Regions from separate parts of the Homo sapiens genome. Here regions 1 and 2 are each linked to region 3. Evidence: promoter capture Hi-C in 16 types of primary human blood cells and fetal thymus (Javierre and others, 2016). All regions are on one chromosome and are shown on one strand. Each heading gives the region's core, a stretch centred on a gene start or on the middle of the fragment in contact. The rest is flanking DNA. Distances are from core to core; before and after follow the strand shown. Region 1 overlaps SNRPD3 (small nuclear ribonucleoprotein D3 polypeptide). Region 2 holds the start of MIF (macrophage migration inhibitory factor). Region 3 holds the start of SPECC1L-ADORA2A (SPECC1L-ADORA2A readthrough (NMD candidate)).

Region 1 (4,508 bases), core at 1,183-3,682, 290 kb before region 3:
CCTCTCAAAGTGTTGGGATTATAGGAGTAGCCACCACATTTTGTCCCACCCCACTTTTATAACAGAAAATGTTATTGAACAAGCAAGGAAAAGTGCTAAGAGGATGTTCTCATTCCCAAAAGGCAGAATGACTGGATCTGGGAAGGACAGGCAAGCCTCACAGCCTGAGATGTGCTGAACAAACTAAACTGTGCTCAGAGTTCACCCACCACCAGCTTTAGCTACGCCACAGTCTGCTGGCTCTTATTCAATGTGCCTAGGTTTTGATAGACCCAGTGAGGCCTCTACATCCTGTTACAGGCTAAATTGTATCCCTCAAAAAAATTCATTGTTGAAGTCCTAATACCCAGCACCTCAGAATGTGATCATATTTAGAGACAAAAAATCTTTACAGGCCAGATGTGGTGGCTCATGCCTGTAATTCCAGGAGTTTGAGAGACTGAGGCAGCAGGATCACTTGTGGCCAGGAGTTTGAAACTGGCCTGAAAAACATATCAAGACTCCGTCTCTACAAAAAAATTTAAAAATTAGCCAGGTATGGTGGGGCACACTGGTAGTCCTGGATACTTAGAAGACTGAGGTGAAAAGATCTCTTGAGCCCAGAAGTCCAAGGCTGCCCATGAGCTATGATCAAACCACTGCACCCCAGCCTGGTCAACAGACCAAAGCTTAATCTCAAAAAAAAAAAAAAAAAAAAAAAAAGAAAAGAAAAAGGAAAAGAAAAAAAAGGCTGGGTGCAGTGGCTCATGCCTGTAATCCTAGCACTTTGGGAGGCCAAGGTGGGCAGATTGCCTCAGCTCAGGAGTTAGAGACCAGCCTGGGCAACATGATGAGCCTCCATCTCTATTAAAAATACAAAAAATATTAACATTAGTGGGGTACGGTGGCCCATGCCTATAACCCCAGCTACTCAGGAGGCTGAGGCAAGAGAGTTGCTTAAACCCGGGAAGACGGAGGTTTGCAGTGAGCTGAGATTGTGCCACTGTACTCCAGCCTGGACAACAGAGCAAGATTCTGTCTCAAAAAAAAAAAAAAAAAAAAAAAAAAAAAAGGCCAGGTGCAGTGGCTCACGCCTGTAATCCTAGCACTTGGGAGGCTGAGGCAAACTCAGGAGTTTGAGACCAGCCTGGGCAACATGGGGAAACCCTATCTCTACTAAAAATACGAAAAACTAGCTGGGCATAGTCCCAGCTACTCAGGAGGCTGAGGCATGAGAAGTGCTTGAACCCAGGAGGCAGAGGTTGCAGTGAGCTGAGATCATGCCACTGCACTCCAGCCTGGGCGACAGAGTGAGACTCTCAAAAAAAAAAAAAAAAAAAAAAAAAAAAAAAAAAAAAAGCAAGCAAGCTGGGCATGGTGGCTCACATCTGTAATCCCAGCACTTTGGGAGGTCGAGGCGAGCAGATCACAAGGTCAGGAGTTCGAGACCAGCCTGGCCAATATGGTGAAACCTGTCTCTACTAAAAATATAAAAATACAAAAATTAGCTGGGCATGGTGGCAGATGCCTGTAGTCCCAGCTACTCAGGAGGCTGAGGCAGGAGAATCGCTTGAACCTGGAAGGCAGAGGTTGCAGTGAGCCAAGATCGCGCCACTGCACTCCAGCCTGGGTGACAGAGCAAGACTGCAGCCTGGGTGACAGAGCAAGGCTCCATCTCAAAAAAAAAAAAAAAAAAATTCTTTATAAACATAATTATGTTAAGATGAAGTCATTAGAGTGGGCCCTAATCCTACATGCATGGTATCCTTATAAGAAGAATCTGGACAGAAACACTACAGAGGGAAGACCAAGTGAAGACACAGGAAGAGAGCCATATATAAGCAAGGAGAGAGGCCTGAAACAGATCCTTCCTTCACATTCCTCAGAAGAAACCAGCCTTGCCAACACCTTGATCTCAGACTTCCAGCCTTCAGAACTATGAGAAAATAAATTTGTGTTGTCTAAGCTGCCCAGTCTGTGAAACTTTGTTATGGTAGCACTAGCATACAAATACAAGCAGGGAGGCAGGTGGCTGTCCCCCACCATTGGTCAGGCATGGTTCCTTCTGAGGCCAAGGTGCTATTTTTATCCCTGATTTAGAGGAGGGACCAGAGGATGAAGGAGGTCCAAAGCTAAGCTCGCCCCAAGTCACCCTAGGGGGCAGGCTACAAGCTGATTCCAGGTCTGTCGGACACCAAGGTCTGTGCACTTTGTGTCATGTTGACTGCATCTCTGAATGGCTACCAAGGTTATCTGGTTAGACACCTTCACGTTACGGATGGGATGACAAAGGCCCTGGAAACCCAGCAAGTTGTCCAAATACATACAGCTAATTGAACAAACCCATTAAGCTTCACTAACCCAAGTCTTGCATTCTCCTCACCAAATTAAAGAACCTTAAAGTGGATGAGCATGCCTTAAGCCAGAGGACTGGATATATGAGAGATGATAAACTTATCTACCCTCAATAGATAAACTGATCTATTGACAGTAATGCAATAAACCTGAGTCACCAGAGGTCTACTTCTCTGCATTCAGGGAACTGACCAAGCTTGTCAACCTCGCAGGAAGATGACAGACGCTCAAAGCTACAGAAAAATCACAAATAAATGAACCCTGCAAACCAATGGATGGTCAGGATGCCTGACCGCGGTGTAAGGTGCTTTACCTCTCTGACCTTCTCATCTGGAAAAAAGCAATAGGTATCATATGTTGAACACTCACAGTATGTGAGGCACTGAGCAGCTATGGCACACATACAGCTCATCTGATCTTTGTAAAAGTCCTGGGGGTGTGGATATTACCCCTGTGGCAGTCTTAAGGGTGTGCTGCTCACATCTCCCTTCAAAAGAGAACAGGCTATGAGGAGTGCAGGCAGCCGACAATCTCCATCTTTGCAGTCCACCATGGCATTCAACTTGAGGCTACTCTCTCCCCATGTTGCCAGCCTGAACACACCGGGGGTGCCAGTCCGCCCATTTCTGCCCCATGCTAGACTCTTCTAACGAGCAATCGCTGCCTTGCTGAGATTTCCTCAAAACTACGCTGTAGTCTAAGGCTCTTCCTGCTCAATCCTCCTTCCTTTCCCCTCTCATTTCACCAGTCAGACCAGCACCATAGACTGAAAATTTCCCTGCCTACTACTGCTTCCTTGCTCTTTTATCCTTTATTGTCATTTCCCCCAATAAATACCTTGCAAAATTCTGTCTTGGCATCTACATCAAAGAACCCAACATAATACCACCCCCATTTTACAGATGAGAAAACTGAGTGGTTAATACATCTAAAGTCATATAATTAGGATTCAAACCCACATCTCTCTCTGACTCCCAAGTCCAAGTTCTTAACCAGTGGTTTAAAGAACAAAGAAAGTGTGAAGATACAACTGAAAAACAATGCTATAAAAATTCAGATGACTATGCAAAAGGCAAAGTTGTGCCATGAGAAGGACACCATATCAGGAAACTACTCCATTATTTATCATCAGAGTGATGAGCCCTTTAATCTCATTCTCCCTATTTTATGGATGACAAGACTATCACCAAACCTGCTTACCTCACAAGGTAGTTGCAATAATCAAATGAGACTCCTCCTCCAAGAGAAAAGGGAAACAAATACAGTAGGTGAGAAGATTCTGCTAATCGCAAAGCAAGTGGAGGCAAATGGATAATGGCCCTGAATCTGAAGGATTCTACTGAAGGAAGTAGCACTTCTCCCAAATAGACCCCCATATTTGGGGATGGAAAAAACAAAAAGGACAAAGTAAAATATTCCAAACCTCCAAATGGCTTTTCTGCCTCAAGATTATGTGTCTCGTTCATGCCCACACCCCCAGAGCCTATAACAGCACCTGACTGGTATGCATTAGGCACTTAGGAAATCACTGCTGAATGAGAACAATTTCCAGAGACCCTCAACACACACTTTTCTGTCCTTCAAGACACAGGGCCATTCCTCCCACACAGCCTCACATGCAAAGCAGAATACCTGGCAGTTCATGTTGTCCTCTGCTTCAATGAGCTTCCCCCGATATACCTCACCGGTGTTCGTCTCACATGTCACAATGTGGCCCTCGGCCTCATGCAGTACTTTAATCGGCACACCAATAGACATCTTGGCAGGAAGAGAGTTCTACAATGAGAGAGACAACAGTCAGTTCATCTTTCAGAGTCTGAAAAGGCATGTGGCACACATCATGCTTCCTTTAAGGCCTGGCACTCCATAAAACTTAGCAAAAACACCAAAGCTGCATTTTCTACCAAGGAAAAAAAAAAAAGCTCAGCTCCTGGTTTGGAGGAAACTATCTGGCAAATATGTGCAAGATGTGGGGTGAGGAGGAATGATGGGATGGACAGAAGTAAAACTAGGAATGAAAAGAGAGCATCTCCCATGGGTCATGTGTCCCCGCTACCCTATGTCCCTTAATCTTCAGCTAAAGGACCATTAGCCAATACTGTGTGTGTCAGGGGAGGGGGACTGGAATGTTAATTTGTTGCACTGTTATTTGTTAACCCTTAATTGTAGATGAT
Region 2 (4,933 bases), core at 540-3,039, 380 kb after region 3:
CCCTTCCAGACTCCCTGGAGCTTCTATTCTCCTTCCTCTTCCTAATCTTCACCCCACCCAGCCCCATTGCTCTTCTGGAAGGAGAGCTCGCTGTCCAGTACTGCGCGGGATGACCGAGTGAACAGGGGACTGGAGACGAGATGTGGCTGGAGACTGAGAGAAGCAGAGGAGTCACACTCCACTCACCTCCACCTCCCAAAGTGCCGGGATCACAGGCTTGTGCCACTGCGCCCAAACATAACTGAAGGTTTTACAGACATGTCTGTGGCACCACAGAACACGAACGGTCCCAATGGAAACCCCACGCCCAATTTCCTCAGGGAACTGCTGTGGCGGAGGCTTGGTGGGTGTCTGAGGGGAGCAGAACCCAAGGCGTGGGGTTCGGGGGTGGACGGGGCGGTATGACCAAGAACTCTGCACCTCCCCCACCCACCCGCCTGAAAACTCTCCTGAAGTCACCTAACAAAGTGGATGGCAGTGAGTGGCTCTGGGTGGGATCTTTCTGTCCTCTGGCTACCCTCTGCCCAACAAGAAGGCTGGGGAAGGTGGGGCTGAGAGAAAGGTCTAGGCCTAGAAGACCTCGGACTCCTCCCAACTCCAACTCCTCCTCCCCCTCTTCCGTGGTCGGCTCACCTCCAGCACCCCACGTGGTGGCCCTAGGTACAACGGATTCCGGCGGGCAGAGCGCCTTAGATCCCGAGTCTGCAGCCCAGGGCAGAGTGCCAACTTCTCCTCATCCCTTCGTACGCCATAGAATGGAAAGACACTGGGGCTCCTCTGTTAGGAGCGTAGGAGGGACAGGCTGGACAAAAGGGCTCCCGAACAGCAGGTTCGGAGGAGAGCAACCCGGCCCTGACCCCCGCCCCCAACACCGTTCCCGACCTCGCTCCCCAATATCCCGGCTCTGCACCAATTCCTCCCGCAAGCCAAGGAACCCCGAGGCACTCCTAGTCTCTAAACCGTTTATTTCTCCCCACCAGAAGGTTGGGGTGGGCGGGCCTAGAACACAGCGTGCGGCGGGTTCCCGGGTGGAGCCAGCGCAGACAGCGTGGGTCCCTGCGGCTCTTAGGCGAAGGTGGAGTTGTTCCAGCCCACATTGGCCGCGTTCATGTCGTAATAGTTGATGTAGACCCTGCGGGGGGAGGAGGCCGGACTCAGCGGGTGGCTCAGTCCCGGGCCTGGCCGCGCGCCGCCGCCCCTCCCCCGCCCCTCCGCGACTCCGCGTACCTGTCCGGGCTGATGCGCAGGCGCTCGGCCAGCAGGCCGCACAGCAGCTTGCTGTAGGAGCGGTTCTGCGCGCCGCCGATCTTGCCGATGCTGTGCAGGCTGCAGAGCGCGCACGGCTCGCTGGAGCCGCCGAAGGCCATGAGCTGGTCCGGGACCACGTGCACCGCGATGTACTGCGAGGAAAGGGCGCGGTCAGCCCGCCCCAGCGACCTCGTCGGGCCCCGAACGTCCACTTCGGGCCCGAGCCACCGTCCTCCCCCCGCCCCGCCCCCCAGCTCCGTTCAGGAGTCGCCTCCCCAGCTCCCAGCGCGGAACCCCTCGTCCGGTGGGCACCCCCCTCTTCCTGTCCCCTCCCGGCAAACCTGGGGGGGCTTGCCGGTGGCCTGCGCCAGCTGCTGGGTGAGCTCGGAGAGGAACCCGTCCGGCACGGAGGCGCGGGGCACGTTGGTGTTTACGATGAACATCGGCATGATGGCAGAAGGACCAGGAGACCCGCGCAGAGGCACAGACGCACGCGCCGCGGCCGCCGCTGAGCTACGTGCCTGACTTCTCGGACACCACTGTGGTCCCGCCTTTTGTGACGCCACCGCCGGCGCCAGGCCCCGCCCCCGCGAGGCTGCGGCTCCGCCCCGAGTGGGGAAGTCACCGCCTGCCTCGGCTCGACCCCCGCAGGGCAGGACCCTGGGCGACTCCGCCCGTTCCTCCAGCAACCGCCGCTAAGCCCGGCGCACCGCTCCAACCTGTTCTCCACTTGGCGGCTAGAAATCGGCCTGTTCCGGCCTCGCCTCGGGTCTTTCTTAGTCCTTTCACTAAGTCACCGATGTTAGTCGCCAGGAGGCGCTGTGCCGGGGGTGGGGATGCGGCGGTGAACCCGGAAGATGGCCCCTTACCCTTCCAGAGATGAAGCCCAGTTCATTCCACTGCACGCACTGAGCCCCTGTACCTCCTGTCTTTGGGCCACATGTCCTCAAGGGCTCCAGTCCCGCATGCGTGAGCTTGTGTGTTTGAGATGGGGCGGGGTAGTCATCGCGGCAGGTGAGAGGGGAGCTGCCCCTGCGAATCACCATCCAGGGAACTTCCCTGAACCCCTGCTCTTTAAAGAGGATAGGATGCTGGGAGGCACCGAAGGGAAGGAGGCGAGGTCCAGAGCAGGTTCAGTGGTTCAAACGTGCTCAGCTCCCCTTCTCTGGGCCTCTGGGCAACTTCAGCTCCTCAGGGAAGCCACACCCTAGTCAGGTCCACCGTGTATGGCCTCTCATAGAGCCCTTGGTGAATTTCTTAAATGTCTTTTCCACTAATGGTAAACTCGGGGACCATCTAGCAGGTGCCAGGCATACAAGAGACATTGACTAATACTGCTGAATGAATGAATGAATGAATGGGTGAAAGAAGATAAGCCATGACATAGCAGGAAGAGGACAAGGCAGCAACTGGATCACAGGCCAGGTCCTCAGAGATTTCCAGGGAGGTCCTGTCCTTGGTCTCTGATAGGTGCAATCCATATACCAGTCTCAGTGAAGGCCATGTGATATAGGAAGGACACCCATGCCTGTGGGACCCTCGTGGCACCAGCCAGCCTCCAGCTGGGAGGCCCCATGGCCCATTTATACAAATAGCCTATGGGTATTGGTTCCTGCAGCTGGGCCCCAGACTCTTTCCCTCCTGGTGTCACACCTTCTCTTACCTGTGCCCAGGGCTCCCTAACTGATGGCACTCCATACCATGTCTCCAGCCAGGGGCACTCCCCTAAGTCCCAGGCGCTGACAGCAGCTGACTGAGTGTCCACTGCTCTGTAAAGTCCAAATGTATGACTTGTCCTCCTACACCTCATCACCTGCCAGTAAAATATGCTTCCTTTCACTATCCCTTTATTCCCACTTCTCTCCATTCCCTGAACTACCGCCTAGTCTACACTACCTGCATCCCCTTTGGCCTGGACCACTGTGACTTCCCTATGGTGGACTGCTGCTCCTCAAGGGAGGAGTCTGTTTCCAGCCCCAGGCAGCAGAGTTAGCCCCGACTCCCTGTGCCCTATGAAAGCTGAGCAGAATTACATAAGTCACTCCAGGCAGAAGACTGAAGAGCCAGGGCCTGGTTGACCTGTGCCCTGTGAACCTGAATGACAAGGTGCAGCCTCGCCAGCAAGCACATGAGCTGCCCCTGGAGGTGAGCCCCTGCCAATCTCAGGTTGTTACCATAACAAAGGGTTGCCTTACCTGGCCAGTGACGGAGCAGGAGCATTGCCATCTTGAACAAACACCACCATTCTAAGTTCCCCCTTAATTAAAAGCCGCCTAAATCCAGCCCGAAAATATCAGCCTAATAGCTAATGTCAGCATAACCAGAAACATTCCAACCCTAAGATAAACCCTTCTCTGACCAGAAACATGCCAACCCGGAGACAGCCTCCCTTCTGACCAGAGACATTCCATCCCCGCAATAAACTTTCCCTCACACAGAAACATTCAGAACCTATGATAAGAACCCCCTCCAAAACCCTTAAATATCCTTAGTTTGTAAGAGAGTGTGGCTCTGACCTAACTTGGCCAGAAGCCCCTCTCAAGTTTGTTTTCCAAAATAAACCTGTCCTTGTTGACTGTCGAGCCACCCTTGGTGTTTCTTTCCTCTTTAATTCTTATAGCCAGGACAGCCTCTGAGCCACTTGTCATCTCCTTGTACCCTCCCCAGCTGTTTCCAGTGGCAGTCAGCCTCATCCTTCTAGAAGGGTACCCAAAGAAGTGATATGATTTGCCTCTTACTAGCATGGACATTTGGCTCACTTTCCCCATCTGTAATTTGGGGATGACAATAGTGTTCACCTGACATAGAGGTGTTATGAGCACCAAGTGGCCTAAATGCCAATGACAGTCTCCTCTGATACTAGGGGTAGTACTGTCACAAGGCCCTGGGGTAACCCGGTCCCTGTGAGCCTCCGCCAACCCTCCCTGGTTCTCTGAGTTATGGCGCACTGTCCTTCAGTACCATGGCTCCTGGCTCCAGGGTTGGGGGTTGGTTCTGAAATCCAGTTTGCCCACATTTTCCCTCATCTGACTCCAACTCATCCTTCAGTTCTTGGCTCAGCCTTAGTTCCTTGGGAAAGCCCCCGGAGCACCTGGCTTGGTCCATTCCCACACGTGCCCAGTACCTGTCCTGTCCTTCGAGGCTATCTCCATATTTCTGAGTTAAGACTGCATGTCTAGGCGGTAAACTCCATCCCAGTGGGGACAGTCTCTTTTTGGGCATTGCTGTATGCATACCTCCTGACCCCTTACCTCCGTGGTAGGCAGATGACCCCCTGCCCACTAAAGAATAGCAGGGGGAGGACAAGCACTAATCCCTGGAACCTACAAGTATGCCATGTTACCTGGCAAAAAGCACTTCACAGATGCAATTAGGATTATGCATCTGTGCATAATAGGGAGATTAGCATGGAGCATCTGGGTACACCCAATCTAATCACATGAACTCTTAAAAGCAGATAATTTTCTCCAGCTAGAGTGCCAGATTCCAAGCAAGAGAAACACTCGATGTCCATTACCGGCTTTGAAGATGAAGGGGACCAGAGACCTCATGGTACAACCACAAGGAACTGAATTCTGCTCACAACCAGATTGAACTTGGAAGTGGATTTTTCCCTTGTCCCTTCAGATACCTTGACTTTGGCCATGCGAGTCCTTACACAGAAGACCTAGTCATGTCACGCCGG
Region 3 (4,996 bases), core at 380-2,879:
CCGCCTCGGCCTCCCAAACTACTGTGATTACAGGCGTGAGCCAGGGAGCTCGGCCTTGTTATATCTGGTTTTTGTTTTTTTGAGACGGAGCCTCGCTCTGTAGCCCAGGCTGGGGTACAGTGGCGCGAACTCGGCTCACTGCAACCTCCGCCTCCCGGGTTCAAGCGATTCTCCTGCCTCACCCTCCTGAGTAGCTGGGATTACAGGCGCGCGCTTTTTGTATTTTTAGTAGAGACAGGATTTCACCATGTTGGTCAGGCTGGTCTTGAACTCCTGACTTCAGGTGATCCGCCCGCCCCGGCCTCCCAAAGTGCTGGGATTACAGGCATGAGGCACCGCGCCTGGCCTGGTTTTTAATTACGAAGAAAAAATTACTATAGTCCCTTTGGTATCACCTACATTGGCAAAATTGCAGTCCCCCTCCACTCCCTGAAGCCACCAGAAATGACTGCTGTTGTCTACAAAGCCTACAGCTCTGATTTCATCTCAAGATGTGTCCTACTGGGTGACAGCAAATGCCATTTTTTAAAGGCTTGTATCTGTTATAAGCTTGGGAAATATTATCATGGCTTAAGAGGCTCTTTTGACAAAAGAAAACACTGTTCCCTGAAATCACCTGGGCTGTTCACGGGAATCTTTTCCTCGCCCTTCTGGTACTTGGACAAATGATCAAGGATATCAACAAATCAAGGTTCCCCGCATTTGAATGATCACAGAATTTTTGCGTGTTCTGTAAATGGGCTAAAACTACTGGAAACTGATTTCTTTTCGTCATCTCCAGGGCAGCTTGCCCAACGTGCCGCGACTATGATGTCTTAGACTTAACTACTTAAGGTAATACAATTACCAAATTCCTGGAAACGCAAAATTTCCTCAGACAGGTACCGGATTATTCACATCCAACCTGATGCAATTAACCACGTCTCAAGAAAAAAGGACGTTCCGTCCGCCTCGGGCGCCGGCCACAGCAGAAGCAGCACCGGCAGCAGGCCCGGGGTCCGCCGCCTGTGGCCCCTGCTCCTCCGCTCTGCGCCCTCGGGGCCACTGAACAACGCTGTCCCCGCCCCAGGCAAGGGACCCGGGCGATGGGGCGGCAGCCCCAGCCTCTCCCGGAGCGGCGGAAAGGCAAGCACGAGGGTCGCACCCGGCCTGTCTGCACACAGTCAAGCCGCAAGCGGGGTCCCAGAACCAGCTGAACCCCAACACCAACGGACGAAGGCCAGTGGGTCTCGGCGGCGAAGCCTGCGGGTTGTTCCAGAAGCCCCGAAGCCCAGAACGAGGACGGCGCGGGAAGGGAAAGGCGCAGGCGCGGGACACACTGGAGGGGCCCAGGAGCAGAGACGGCGCAGGCGCTGGGCCTGCCGGGGTCTGCGGGGACGCCCGGGCGCGGCAGCGCGGGCGGCGCTGAGGCGATAAACCAACCCGCCAGCGAACACTGCGGGAACCCGGCTGCTGCTCTTACCGCGCTGCACCGCATCGCTCCCTCGCAATCTCCTGGTTTGGGCTGGGCGGTGAGCTCACCCGGTGGCTCAGCCGAGACCCGTTGAGTCCGGCCTCAGGAAAGCAGCCTACCCCGCAGCGCCGCTTGCCGGGCCGCCCGGCCTCCCTCGCGGGCCCCGCCCTTGGCCAGCCCCTTCGCGCCCAGCAGGGCTGCGGCCGTCTGCGCAGGCGTCGTGGAGGCCCCGCCTACATTCCTTCACTGCGCAGGCGCCGCCGTCCCCCACCACCACCCCCTCCCCTTCCCCCATCTCCGGCTCGCGTCCGTCTCGGCACTGGGTCGCGCAGCCGCTCTGCCACTTGGCCGGTCAAGAAAGTAGCCGGCCAGCCGGTGCGCATGCCTCAGGTCTTGGGCTGGAGCCGGGCAAGGCGGGTCCCTTCAGAGGCCCCACTGGGCCCAGCGGAATGATGCTCAGAGTCCGCTAGTCCCAAAAGTTCTCCTCAGCGTGTTTACCGTGTGCCAAGGACTGTGCTATGCATGAGCCAGACAGCAGTGAGGAAAACACAAAGCCCTGTCCTCCTGGCACTCCCGGTACATAAGGGAACAGACAAAAAGAATAAGCGAGCAACATATATGTATATATATATGTATATACATATATATATACGTATATATATATACGTATATATATATGTATATATATACATATATATATACGTATATATATATGTATATATATGTGTATATATATACATATATATATGTATATATATATATATATATATATAAAATATTAAAGAAATTCTGGGGGAGTTCGAGTTCCATCGGCCCCCATCCGGGCCACCCTGCCACCTTAGCGGCTGCTCCTCCCCAGAATGCTGATGCCTAAGAAAAACCGGATTGCCATTTATGAACTCCTTTTTAAAGAGGAAGTCACGGTGGTCAAGAAGGATGTCCACATGCCTAAGCACCTGGAGTTGGCAGACAAGAATGTGCCCGGCCGGGCGCGGTGGCTTAGGCCTGTAATCCCAGCACTTTGGGAGGCCGAGGCGGGCGGATCACGAGGTCAGGAGTTCAAGACCAGCCTGGCCAAGATGGTGAAACCCGTGTCTACTAAAAATACAAAAATATTAGCCAGGCGCGGTGGCAGACACCTGTAATCCCAGCTAGTCGGGAGGCCAAGGCAGGAGAATTGCTTGAACCCAGGGGGCGGAGGTTGCAGTGAGCCGAGATCGCGCCCCTGCACTCCAGCCTGGGCGACAGAGTGAGACTCCTCTCAAAAAAAAAAGAATGTGTGTGCCCAACCTTCCTGTCATGTAGTCCCGAGGCTACTACGTGAAGGAACAGTTTGCCTGGAGACATGTCTACTGGTACCTTACCAATGAGGATATCCAGTATCTCCGTGATTACCTTCATCTGCCCCTGGAGATTGTGCCTGCCACCCTACGCCGCAGCCGTCCAGGGACTGGCAGGCCTCGGTCTAAAGGTCTGGAGGGTGAGCGACCTGCAAGACTCACAAGAGGAGAAGCCGACAGAGATACCTACAGAAGGAGTGCTGTGCCCCCTGGTGCCGACAAGAAAGCCGAGGCTGGGGCTGGGTCAGCAACCGAATTCCAGTTTAGAGGCAAATTTGGTCGTGGACACCGTCAGCCACCTCAGTAGAATTGGAGAGGATTATTTTGCATTGAATAAACTTACAGCCAAAAAGACTTAAAAAAAAAAAAAGAAAAAAATTGTATTATGTCGCAAATGAACCTGTTGCAATGATCATACAGGTTTTTTCCTTTGATAGTTTGTACTACTTTAATAGTTTTTTCTTTTATTACATAATCTTAGTTTCCTAGGAAAACCCCAACTTGGTCGTGATACATGTTTAATCCATTGCTGGATTATTTGCTAATATTTTATTTAGCGTTTTTGCATATATGTCCATAAGAAGTTAGTCCATACTTTTGCCTCCTTGTACTATTTATGTCTGGTTTGGTTTTAAGCCTATACTAAATTCACAGTGAGTTGGGGAGAATTCCATTTGCTTCTTTTTCTGAAAGATTATCTAGGCTGGGCACTGTGGCCTACGCTTGTAAAACTAGCATTTTGGGAGGCCGAGGTGGGCGGATTACCGGAGGTCGGGAGTTCAAGAACAGCCTGGCCAACATGGTGAAACCCCATCTCTACTAAAAATACAAAAAATTAGCCGGGCACACCTGTAATCCCAGCTACTCTGGAGGCTGAGGCAGGATAATTGCTTGAACCTGGGAGGCAGAGGTTGCAGTGAGCAGAGATCACGCCACTGCACTCCAGTCTGGGCTACAAAGCGAGACTTTCTGTCAAAAATAAATAATTAATTTTTAAAAATTATGTAGAAGATAAAAACTTTATGTTCTTTTTAATGTTTGCTGTCCATAAAATCATCTGGGCCAGGTACTTTTCTTTGGTTTTGTTTTTTTGTGAGATTTTTGAGGGGATGGGATACAGATTTTTTTTTTTTTTTTTTTTTTTTTGAGACGGAGTCTCGCTCTGTCGCCCAGGCTGGAGTGCAGTGGCACCATCTCGGCTCACTGCCAGCTCCGCCTCCCGGGTTCACGCCATTCTCCTGCCTCAGGCTCCCGAGTAGCTGGGACTACAGGCACCCACCACCAGGCCCGGCTAATTTTTTGTATTTTTAGTAGAGATGGGGTTTCACCATGTTAGCCAGGATGGTCTCGATCTTCTGACCTTGTGATCCGCCCACCTCGTCCTCCCAAAGTGCTGGGATTACAGGCTTGAGCCACTGCGCCCGGCCGGGATACAGATTTTAAAATAAACATTCAATTCCTTTGATGGTTCTAGATCTAGACAAACTTTTCTGTTTCTCCCTACTTCGTTTTTATGAAGTTATATTTTTCTTTTGAGACAGAATTTCTCTGTTGCAGTCACGTGATCTTGGCTCACTGCAACCTCCTCCTCCCAGGTTCAAGTGATTCTCCCGCCTCAGCCTCCCAAGTAGCTAGGGTTACAAGCATGTGCCACCACGCCCAGCTAATTTTTGTATTTTTGGTAGAGTTGGGGTTTTGCTATGCTGGCCAGGCTGGTCTCGAACTCCTGAGATCAGGTGATCCACCAACCTCGGCCTCCCAAAGTGCTGGGATTACAAGCACCCCACCTGGCCTGAAGTTGTATTTTTCTATAAAACTGCCTGTTTTGATATTTTAAAAAATCACTGGCATAACGTGGTTTATGTAATGTCCTTATGATTTTTGTCTTAATACTGTTTATTTATTTTATATATTTATTTAGAGATTGAGTCTTGCTCTATTGCCCAGGCTGGAGTGCAGTGGCCTGATCTTGGCTCACTGCGACCTCCGCCTCTCAGGTTCAAGCAATTCTCGTGCCTCAGCCTCCTGAGTAACTGGGATTATAGGCACCCACCACCACACCCAGCTAATTTTTGTGTGTGTGTTTTGTTGTTGCTGTTGTTGTTGTTTCTTTTTGTGAGACAAAGTTTTGCTGTTGTTGCCCAGGCTGGAGTATAATGGCGCAATCTCGGCTCGGCACAACCTCCATCTCCCGGGTTCAAGC

What was found. The method cuts DNA at HindIII sites, captures the fragments that hold promoters and counts their contacts. A CHiCAGO score of 5 or more calls a contact.
Region 1: a contact is called between a fragment that was not itself captured here and the fragment with the promoter of SPECC1L-ADORA2A in region 3, in 4 of 17 cell types (monocytes, erythroblasts, naive CD4 T cells and 1 more). The highest score is 6.4, in monocytes.
Region 2: a contact is called between the fragment with the promoter of MIF here and the fragment with the promoter of SPECC1L-ADORA2A in region 3, in 2 of 17 cell types (erythroblasts and neutrophils). The highest score is 5.6, in erythroblasts.

What each region holds. Positions count from the first base shown.
Region 1 is chr22:24,557,259-24,561,766 of GRCh38, reverse strand. It overlaps SNRPD3 (small nuclear ribonucleoprotein D3 polypeptide), which reads right to left. Exons shown (of 4, transcript NM_004175.5): 2 at 3,967-4,110. The coding sequence starts at 4,092. Among named protein-coding and RNA genes, the nearest start is that of SNRPD3, 3.5 kb to the right of the region's middle. RefSeq lists an enhancer at 2,189-2,238. The HindIII fragment of the contact is 200 bases long and covers 2,333-2,532 here.
Region 2 is chr22:23,891,239-23,896,171 of GRCh38, reverse strand. It overlaps MIF (macrophage migration inhibitory factor), which reads right to left and starts at 1,789. Exons shown (of 3, transcript NM_002415.2): 1 at 1,590-1,789; 2 at 1,228-1,400; 3 at 949-1,132. The coding sequence starts at 1,697. The coding sequence ends at 1,066. It overlaps MIF-AS1 (MIF antisense RNA 1), which reads left to right. Exons shown (of 3, transcript NR_038911.1): 2 at 62-343; 3 at 640-2,462. RefSeq lists enhancers at 499-1,306, 1,307-2,114. The HindIII fragment of the contact is 28,199 bases long and covers 1-4,933 here.
Region 3 is chr22:24,267,450-24,272,445 of GRCh38, reverse strand. It overlaps SPECC1L-ADORA2A (SPECC1L-ADORA2A readthrough (NMD candidate)), which reads right to left and starts at 1,629. Exons shown (of 20, transcript NR_103546.1): 1 at 1,463-1,629. It overlaps SPECC1L (sperm antigen with calponin homology and coiled-coil domains 1 like), which reads right to left and starts at 1,615. Exons shown (of 17, transcript NM_015330.6): 1 at 1,463-1,615. It also overlaps the pseudogene RPS10P29. RefSeq lists an enhancer at 1,157-1,236 and a silencer at 1,297-1,826. The HindIII fragment of the contact is 24,380 bases long and covers 552-4,996 here.